2 separate regions of the Homo sapiens genome follow, and region 1 is linked to region 2. Evidence: promoter capture Hi-C in human tissues and cell types (Jung and others, 2019). All regions are on one chromosome and are shown on one strand. The core of a region is centred on a gene start or on the middle of the fragment in contact, and the rest is flanking DNA. Distances in the headings are between cores, read along the strand shown. Region 1 overlaps LINC00624 (long intergenic non-protein coding RNA 624). Region 2 holds the start of BCL9 (BCL9 transcription coactivator).

Region 1 (4,339 bases), core at 998-3,497, 36 kb after region 2:
GGGTAAGAGATGGAAGCATGTTACAGCTAGAGGTACAATTTATTGCAGACCCAGACACGAGAAGGTCAGAGAAAATCAGAGAAAGCAAGCAAGTGAATTTGCCTTACTCTAGGACCCACACTTTGGTGATCACAGCTGGATGAAGAATGTCAGGGGATGAATCGGAAGAAATGAAACTGGAAAGAGGAAGGAACCAAGTCTTGAAGGGTCTTGGAAGCCATGTTAAGAAGGATGAATGAGAGGTAAAGAAGACGACATTGAGCTTTCTCACTTGGGCAGTTGGCGGATGGCAGTTGGTGGATGGCAGTGGGTGGATGACTTTACTGAGGTAGGAAGCCTGAGAGGAAAAGCAGGTTTTGAGGGAGAGTTGACTAATGCAGTTTAAGACATGTCATGTCGGAAACATCATGTATCACACTGTCCAGTAAGTAGTTGAAGACAAAGATCTGGATCTCAGGAGAGGAGCATGGGCTGAAGATGGCAATATGGAACTATTGCTACATGGTTGGTTATTAAAGACAAAGAAGTAGCTGAGATTGCCAGGGAGAGTAGACAGAGGAGAAACAGGCCCAGGATAGAGCTCCAAGGAACTTCAAAAGTAAAAAGAAGAGAAGGAGAACCCATAAAGGAGTTGAAGAAGCATGTTGTTCTGTTGAGAGAGTATATTCTGGCCATATGTCTCTGGGCAAGTTAGGTCACCTCTCTGAGCCATGGTCTTTTCATCTCTAACAAGGACAGTAATAGCACCTACCTTACGGAGCAGTACCTAGAAAGTTTATCGCAATTCTGGCACATAGTAAGCATCAATTAAGGTTAGCTCATGTTTTAGTAAGAAGAATGATAACAATGAAAAAAAACAAGTAGAGTACTCAGAAGAACATGAGATGAAGTTGATGGCATGAGGGAAGAGTGTTGAGACAAGAAAAAACTGGTCAATAAGGACAAATGGGCCAGGTGAAGTGGGTCACGCCTGTAATCCCAGCACTTTGGGAGACTTGAGATGGCAGGATCTCTTGAGCCCAGGAGTTCAAGGCCAGCCTGGGCAACAAAGTGAGACCTTGTCTCTGCAAAAAATAAATACATAAATAAAGACAAATGTACTGAGGTCAAAATAAAAAGGCTGAAAACAGTCTATTGGATTTGGCTGTAGGTAGGACATTGATGACCTTTGCAAGGTATGTTTCAGGAGCATGGTCTGAGATGAGAAGACCTGGAGATAGTAATTTTGGGAGAAATGGATTTTCAGACGAGTTCGGTAGTTAGGCTGAGGACACACAGCCAGTGAACTCTGTTGTCACATAGTGACCCGAACTCAGATTGTCAGACTCCAAATTTTGTTTTCTTTCCACCTATAGGACCCAAGGAAGATAATTTAACAAATAAACCTAACTCCATGATTTCTGCTTAGTTAACTGAGGAGAGGAAGGAATGAAAAAAATAAAAATAGAAAGAAAGGATGGGGTATGGGGAGATAGGAATATATAGCAAGGCACAGAATTTGTCAGGAAGGGTAATTAGGCAGACCCATTCCCAGGAACGGGAGGAAGTTGAATATAAAATCAACAAATGTTTCTTGAATGCCTCTCACGTGTCAAGCCTGTGGGGACTGCAGATGAAACAGAGACATAAGACACGACTCTTGCTTCCAGGAACAAGACATAAACATGAGAAAAATTTAAGTGCTGAACAGTTGTTTAAGGCAACAATGGAAGAGCTGCCACAAAGCAATATATGATTTATTGTCAAATGAATTGTAGCAAACAATGAATGAAAAAACTTCTTCAGAATTTGCCAAGGAAAGCTCACTCAGTTTCAGGTAGATGAACTGGACCCCTAAGCAGCGCCAGGTATGGGGGTCCCTGGGATTTGTGCCAAGAGATGGGGCTGCCCCTGCTAGTGGAGGGTAATAAACCTTGTGGCGTAGGCCCAGAAAAGCTGGGTGCCCTATAACTGGGCTATAGGATGAGAACACTGGTCTCCACCTGGCTCGGTGTGTGTGTGTGTGTGTGTGTGTGTGTGACAAAAATTGGAGAAAGACACATAGAAACAGATACGTACACACAGAGACATGGAAAAGGGTAGATGATGAAAGATAGGGAAAGAATGCCTGGCACATAGCGGCTCATTGGATAAATGAACACACAATCAAAGGAGATTCAAAGCAAAGTGTATGAGAGAGGCTGAGCCACATATTGGGAAATCTTTGAATCAGACTCAATCATGACTCTTTTTACCTGTGTGCATTTAGGCAAGGTTACTTGACATTTCTGGGTTTCCTTTTCTTTGCCAGACAGGAATAACAACATCTACTTTACCAGGCTGTTGTACCAGGACTGAATTGAATAACATGTATATAAATTACCTGGTACACGGTCTGATCCGAAGTCCATGCTCAATAAATGTCAGTTGTCAATGGCAGTTCAAGGTGCTTACAGATTGTCACCTTTCACTGAAGAAGTTTGAGATGCTTTATAAATATTAGCAGATGAAGTCTCACAAGACACTGAAAAAGTGGAAAACAAATGTTATCATCCTTATTTTATGCATGGAGAAGCTTGGCACTGAGAATCAGGGTTTTGCCAGAGGAATAAGCAATTCTGTGGGAGGATGGGGGAGGGAGGGGGATGAAGCAAAGCCTCAACAAAGATTCTCAAACATGGCCTGCCTTCCGTACCCGCCCTCCAGCCAGCTAGCCAGCAGGTGGTAGGGTCAGATTACATTTGCTCTCCCCTGCCTGGTCTCTAGCTCTGACTGGGGCTGGCTGGTGAGTTTGCAATGATGCAGTGTAACCCTGGGCGTTATTTCTCAAAAAATCAGGCAGCATGAAAGAGGATGAGCTCTGATCAGACCCAGCATTGATTCCTTCTGAGAGCAGTCTACGAGTCAGACTCTCTTTGGCAGCCTTTTCCCACCTCCTCCGTGACAACTTGATAATAGTCCGTCCTGGTGGAATTTTCTCCCCCAGGACATTCCTGCAACTGAGTTGCTTCGCCCTTTCAAAACACAAGTGAGCAGAGCCCAGAAACTGAAACAGCCTTCCGGTCTCATTAGCGCGCTATGTTTCTCTGTTGTTCCGATTTGTTATTGTGGTTCCTGGGTGTGAATATGATCACTTGTTAAAGTGGCCTATTTATACGCGTCTTCTCTTTAATTTACCTTCATTTCTCAGCACCCGAGAAATAGAAGGAAATCAGTGCACTGTGTTAATGATTTCTGTGGCCCTGGTTGCTAGGTGCGAGGGCAGAGGCCCAGACCCTAAGGAGGCTTTCAATATCTGAACCAGTGTCACTGTTGCCTCCTCCAACCCATCCTTCAGCGCACACACCAGGGAAGTACATCGGCGTTATGGCTGACTTGGGTATGAGTTTGTGAGTCAGAAATCAGCTCCTGGAGAAGAGCAGGAGAATTAAGGTTGAATGGGGATTGCACGCCCATGTACACAATTATGGTGCTTTAGAAAGGCCAGCTAGGACGTCTGGAATATAAACCAGGTTGTGAGGCCTTGGAGGGTGCTTGGCACACAGTAGGTGCTCAGCGAGTGGGGGCTGAATGTGACAAAGTAGAACCAGAGCTATGGCAAGAATGCCAACAATGCAGCAGGGCGTGGTGGCTCACGCCTGTTACCCCAGCACTTTGGGAGGCCGAGGTGGGCGGATCATCGAGACCATCCTGGCTAACACGGTGAAACCCCATCTCTACTAAAAAATACAAAAAATTAGCCGGGCATGGTGGTGGGCACCTGTAGTCCCAGCTAGTCGGGAGGCTGAGGCAGGAGAATGGTGTGAACCCGGCGGGTGGAGCTTGCAGTGAGCCAAGATCGCGCCACTGCAGTTCAGCCTGGGCAACAGAGCGAGACTCCATCTCAAAAAAAAAAAAAAAAAAAAAAAAGAAAAAGAATGCCAACAATGCTAGGTTCTTAGGCCTGAGGCTTGGAATACTGATTCATTCCAACTCATCCTTGGCCTTAGTTAAGTCCTTATTTCAGTAGGATAAGAATGTATGTAAAGCTCCAAAATATGTTTCTATTTACATTATAAAGCTCCACAAAGTAGCAAACAGGCACCTTTCTTCCTCCTTTAGAACTCTATTCTTAATTTCTTATTAGGACAGTCTTCCCCTCTGTTGGGAAGCAAGCTCATTTCTTCTGGACCTGCCCTTGGAGGAGATGGAGAGCTCCAGTTCGCTGTCTTTTTTTTTTTTTTTTGAGACGGAGTGTCGCTCTGTCACCAGGCTGGAGTGCAGTGGCGTGATCTCGATTCACTTCAACCTTTGACTCCTTAGTTCAAGTGATTCTCCTACCTCAGCCTCCTGAGTAGCTGGGATTACGGGCATGTGCCAC
Region 2 (4,502 bases), core at 1,416-3,915:
TGTGGTTAATGTTGATCATACCAACAAGACTGTAAGTTCCCTGAGGGCAGGGGTATATCTGCCTTTCTCTTCCTATATCCTCAGTGCCCAGTATTTGCCTGCTGCAGAGTAAAGAGCCCCAAAATATAAGTTGAATGAACAAATGAATACATGAATGAATTTATGCAAATTCATGTTGTGGACCCATGTTTGCATATTTGTACCATTTGATGACATGAGCAGGGCAGAGTGTGCTGCTGTAATCCAGCACAGCAAGCAGAACTACAAAAGGTGCCTCTCTTTGGTTGGCCAAGTGCTGGAGTTTGTAAAATCAAATGTGGGTGTGAGGTAAGGGTACCCGGCATGAAGACCCTTGGGGTACTCTGAACCCCAGGGTGTGGTCTAGATGTTACCACAGCTTTGTTGCACCCGCCTCAGATCAGTGCTTATCTCTCTTGGACCTTAACATCCTCATCTATAACATGATGGAATAACACTTCTTTTTCCTTGCAGTTCTTAAATTCTAACATTTTAGGAAGATATCTGGACCCTGAAATCTTGTCAGGAACAACCATGGTAAGATCTCTGACTATAAAGTAGAAAACAACTAAGTTTTCAGATATATATATGCATAAAATACAGCTTTATTTTAATAAAACCTTAAATGTAGGGGGACCTTCTTGCCAGATCCAGGCCAACTAATGGCTTTCCTTCAGCTTTTCCCATACTCAGAAGTCAGGTTTCCAGGCCTCTGTGAAAAGCACATAAATATTCTCAGCCAGGGCTGGCCCTTTGCTTCAATCTCCAGCTATCACAGGGAGTCAGTCTGATAAACATTTGCAGTTAGAATGGAAGGAGGCACAGCCTCCTAGACTTTTACAGATTTTTTTGGACAAGTAGCAGAGTCACAGAAAACCTAGAATTAGGTAAGAAAGCAGAACTCCTCCAGAGAATTCAGAGAGAGCTACAACTGAGAGCCTTTAAACAATCAATGTGTAGGAACAGAAGAAAGGAAATCCACAATTCAAGAAAATAAGCAGACATTTTTTTTCCTCAAAAAAAATTGTTAAGATGAATGTTAGGCACTGATTTTAGCCCTCTGTTCCATCCCTCAAGATGTCACTTGAAAAAGCAAAAGGTTTTATCCACAAAACCACCGGCGAGTAAACAGCCTTCACATTCTTAGCCTCGTACACACACAGTAAGATATTTACTCTCTGATAAACAGCAATTGTAAATAAATCTCATTTAATCTCTAAAAGCCACAATAAAAATCTTTAACCTCCAAGGTAGAGTTTACAGATGCGTCTGCATGCCCTGCCAGCCCCAGAAAACACAAGGTCTTGAATAAACTACTATACCAGGAGGCACATTTTCTCGCTCAAGCATCTTACATTGACCTTCTTTAAAACAAAAATACGTACAAGGAGGAGGAAAGGGGAAAACCCAACCCCTCCCACCCCATTCTCTGTACAAATCGGCCAATAAATCTAACGAAAAGACACAAGAGAAAAAGGACAGAAGCCAACAGGTGGAACAAGGCTTTTTGTTTCCTTAGAAATGCTCAGACACTTGATCTGTGCTCCTCAGTCTATTTGTCTCAGGGTGTCTTTAATGATGTTTTTATTACCCTGATGATGATGATCAAGAATAATGATAACACTTCTACTCTGTGATTCCACAGCATCTCTAGCTGACGATTTCTCCACGCGTTTCAGACACAGTGATCTGTTCTGTTTCGCTCAATCCCAGGGAGGCATACAGCATCCCTGATCAGCAACCTTGATTTTACAGATGGGGAAATTGAGGCACGGGGCACCCCACAACTCAACAGTCTCTACGACCAGAGGAATCCCTGAGACTGGAAAAGTTTCTGGATCGTCTTGTGGCAGAGTTCTCTTGCTCTCCCTTCTTGCCTGCCATGCCGCTCCTCCTCGGAGAGTCTGGGCTGGGGTGGTAAGGATCGGGGTGCCTCCCCTTCACAGCGAGGCACGCCAGGGCAGTGTGTGGGAAGTCCACACGCACACACAGACCCACGGGCACACTGGCACACACAAAGCTCGATGCAATCTCTGCAGTCACTCGGCGGAGCCCTGGCCGGCCCTTGCTCAGCCTGAGAATGCACAGCTCGGAGCCTGCAAGGCCTCCCTGGGCTCTGGGCTGGGGTTTCCCTGAACCAAGGCTCTGCCCTTCTCTCCCTCTTTTCCAGGCTTCCCTCTCTCGCGCTCCCTCTCTCTCTCTCTTTTCCCTCCCACCCTCACACCCTCCTCCCAGCCCTCTCCATCCACCCCTTCTCCCCCACCAACCCAGAGGCACAGATCGTGTTACTGGGGTTCCCTCGAAAGAGGGGCCATCCCCAGTCCTGGATGCCTTGAAAGACTTCCAGGGGCAACGCAGGAGCTCCAATCGCAGGACCCCAGCGCTCCTCCAGAGCAGCGCAGGAATGAGACCCCCACTTCCAGGCACAGGCGAACAAGCCTGCCACCGAAGAAGGAATTGTTAGGGCTCTTACCTTTTTTATGAGGAGAAATTCTGGAGAATCATTTCAGAAACTGAGGGGGGAAAGTGAATGAAGACAAAAAAGACCCTTTTCCCGCAATCCCTGGCCTCCTGGTATCAAGACACCAGGACAACATCAAAGCAACTTAGGGGGAACACTTTAGGGGCCTATTGTCTGCTCTGGTCTGATCTGTTTTTCTTCTGACTCCCCCTCTTGCTGCGGTGACACTTGGTACGGCCCAGGCATTCATGCCAAGTAGCTTTCACACATGGAAGCTTGTCTCAAGCAATTGCTGACAAGCCACAAACAAGACATTCTCCCTCCCTTCTCTGCGCCCCCCCACTCCTCCCCCCTCCACCTTTTCCTCCTCCCCTCTTGTCTCCCCTCCTCCTTTCTTCTGAATGCAAACTAAAACTCTCCAGTGACAGGCAGGCTCGCAGGCTTGGCCTAGCTGCGCACGCAGGCACACACACACACACACACACACACACACACACACACACACACACTCTCTCTCTCTCTCTCTCTCTCTCTCTCTCTCTCTCTCTCTCTCTCTCTCTCTCTCTCCTCTCTCTCTCTCTCTCTCTTCTCTCTCTCTCTCTTCTCTCTCTCTCTCAAGCAGCTCAGCTAGTTGCTGCTGCACTGGTGGAGTTAAGAGACAGGAAAAAGCCCAGGCTGAGTTGGGGGCAGGGAGAAAAAGAGAGGGAGAGCGAGAGCAGAGAGCCGCCTCCTGTGTCCTAGTAAAATGGCAGAAGAGAGGTGAGTCCTTTGGAAGAAAAGCAGTGGCCACACACGTGTGCACACATACACAGACTCAGGCCATCTCAGCGCCAGGAAAAGTGAAATAAATGACCCGACAAAGGAAAAAGCAAAGTCCCATTAGCTGGAGATTGGGGGAGTAGGGAGATAAGAGGGTGAGTGGCCCCAGGACTGGGGTTTCTGTTGAGTGGTTAGGTGATTTTTCTTCTTTACAATAGAGAAAAATTTGTTTCCTAAGGATCTAGCCTTCTTTCACTGCATAATTGAGCATGGACTTGAGCTACTAGTTAAAATAAAATCATGAAATGTGTAAATGTGTGAGTAAACTTAACTGTAGGTTCAACTTGTACCCAAGATATTTTTAAAGTGAAGCTTTTTTTATTTTTTTTTATTTTTTATTTTAGCAGAAACCCTAGAGAGCAGTAGCAAGGAGAGTAGTAACAAGTAGTGTAAACTAGGAGAGCTGTGAAGTGTGATGCTAAAGTTACTGATTGCCAGGCTGCTGGAATTTATGGAGGGTGGGCCTGAGAGTTGGAGGAGGGGAGGGTGAGTGTGCTGTTTTCTAGGAATAAGAGGGGAATGAGGTAGGATAATGAATATGGCAAGAAACAAGCAGGAATTTGATTGGTGTGGAGGGAGGAGGTGGGGGCTGTAAAGGAGTGGAGAGAGAGAGAGAGAGAGAGAGAGAGAGAGAGAAACAACACTGCATTAAAAAAAGAAGAAAAATGGAAGCCCAGAAAGATTGAAACATGCAGAGTAAATGAGATGGTAAAAGAAGGCATAAAATGTGAGCAAAAAGGAGCACAAAGGATGTGCAAATTTGCAGATGGCATGAAATCAGGAGGGCCAATTGAGATCAGGAAGAAGAATGACAGGATGATTATATGACATTCATATTTTTAGATACTGTGGACTCACAGACCTAACAAGGTCTCCTCTGCCTAGGCCAGAAGAGTTATCCCTATGCAACAGGATCTGAATGGAAGCTTAGCTCCTAACTGCTGCTGAATCAGTTCTGTACTTTTTCATGAAGATTGTTTAGACTCTATTCCTCAGAATCTTCCTTTACAAAATGGAAATTATGAGAACACACATCACTCATTCCTTCATAGGTATGCAGTAAAGAATAAATTATGACTTCTTTCATACTTAACACCAGCTAAATGAGGTGTCACTACCTAAAACTCACCACATCAAAGACACAGACTTGTTCCTGTTATTTTCCCCCTTAATTTGCTCCTCCATTATCCCTGATCCCTGAACT

Evidence for each region. The method cuts DNA at HindIII sites, captures the fragments that hold promoters and counts their contacts. A contact is called where the count stands out against the background at its distance.
Region 1: a fragment that was not itself captured here is called in contact with the fragment with the promoter of BCL9 in region 2 in 1 of the 25 tissues and cell types used here (thymus).

What each region holds. Positions count from the first base shown.
Region 1 is chr1:147,503,525-147,507,863 of GRCh38, reverse strand. The region is part of intron 3 of LINC00624 (long intergenic non-protein coding RNA 624); the gene reads left to right. Among named protein-coding and RNA genes, the nearest start is that of LINC00624, 12 kb to the left of the region's middle. RefSeq lists enhancers at 2,461-3,306, 3,307-4,154, 4,155-4,339. The HindIII fragment of the contact is 4,397 bases long and covers 49-4,339 here.
Region 2 is chr1:147,539,664-147,544,165 of GRCh38, reverse strand. BCL9 (BCL9 transcription coactivator) reads right to left here and starts at 2,665. Exons shown (of 10, transcript NM_004326.4): 1 at 2,492-2,665. RefSeq lists enhancers at 2,620-2,679, 2,240-2,994, 2,713-3,007. The HindIII fragment of the contact is 6,993 bases long and covers 1-3,211 here.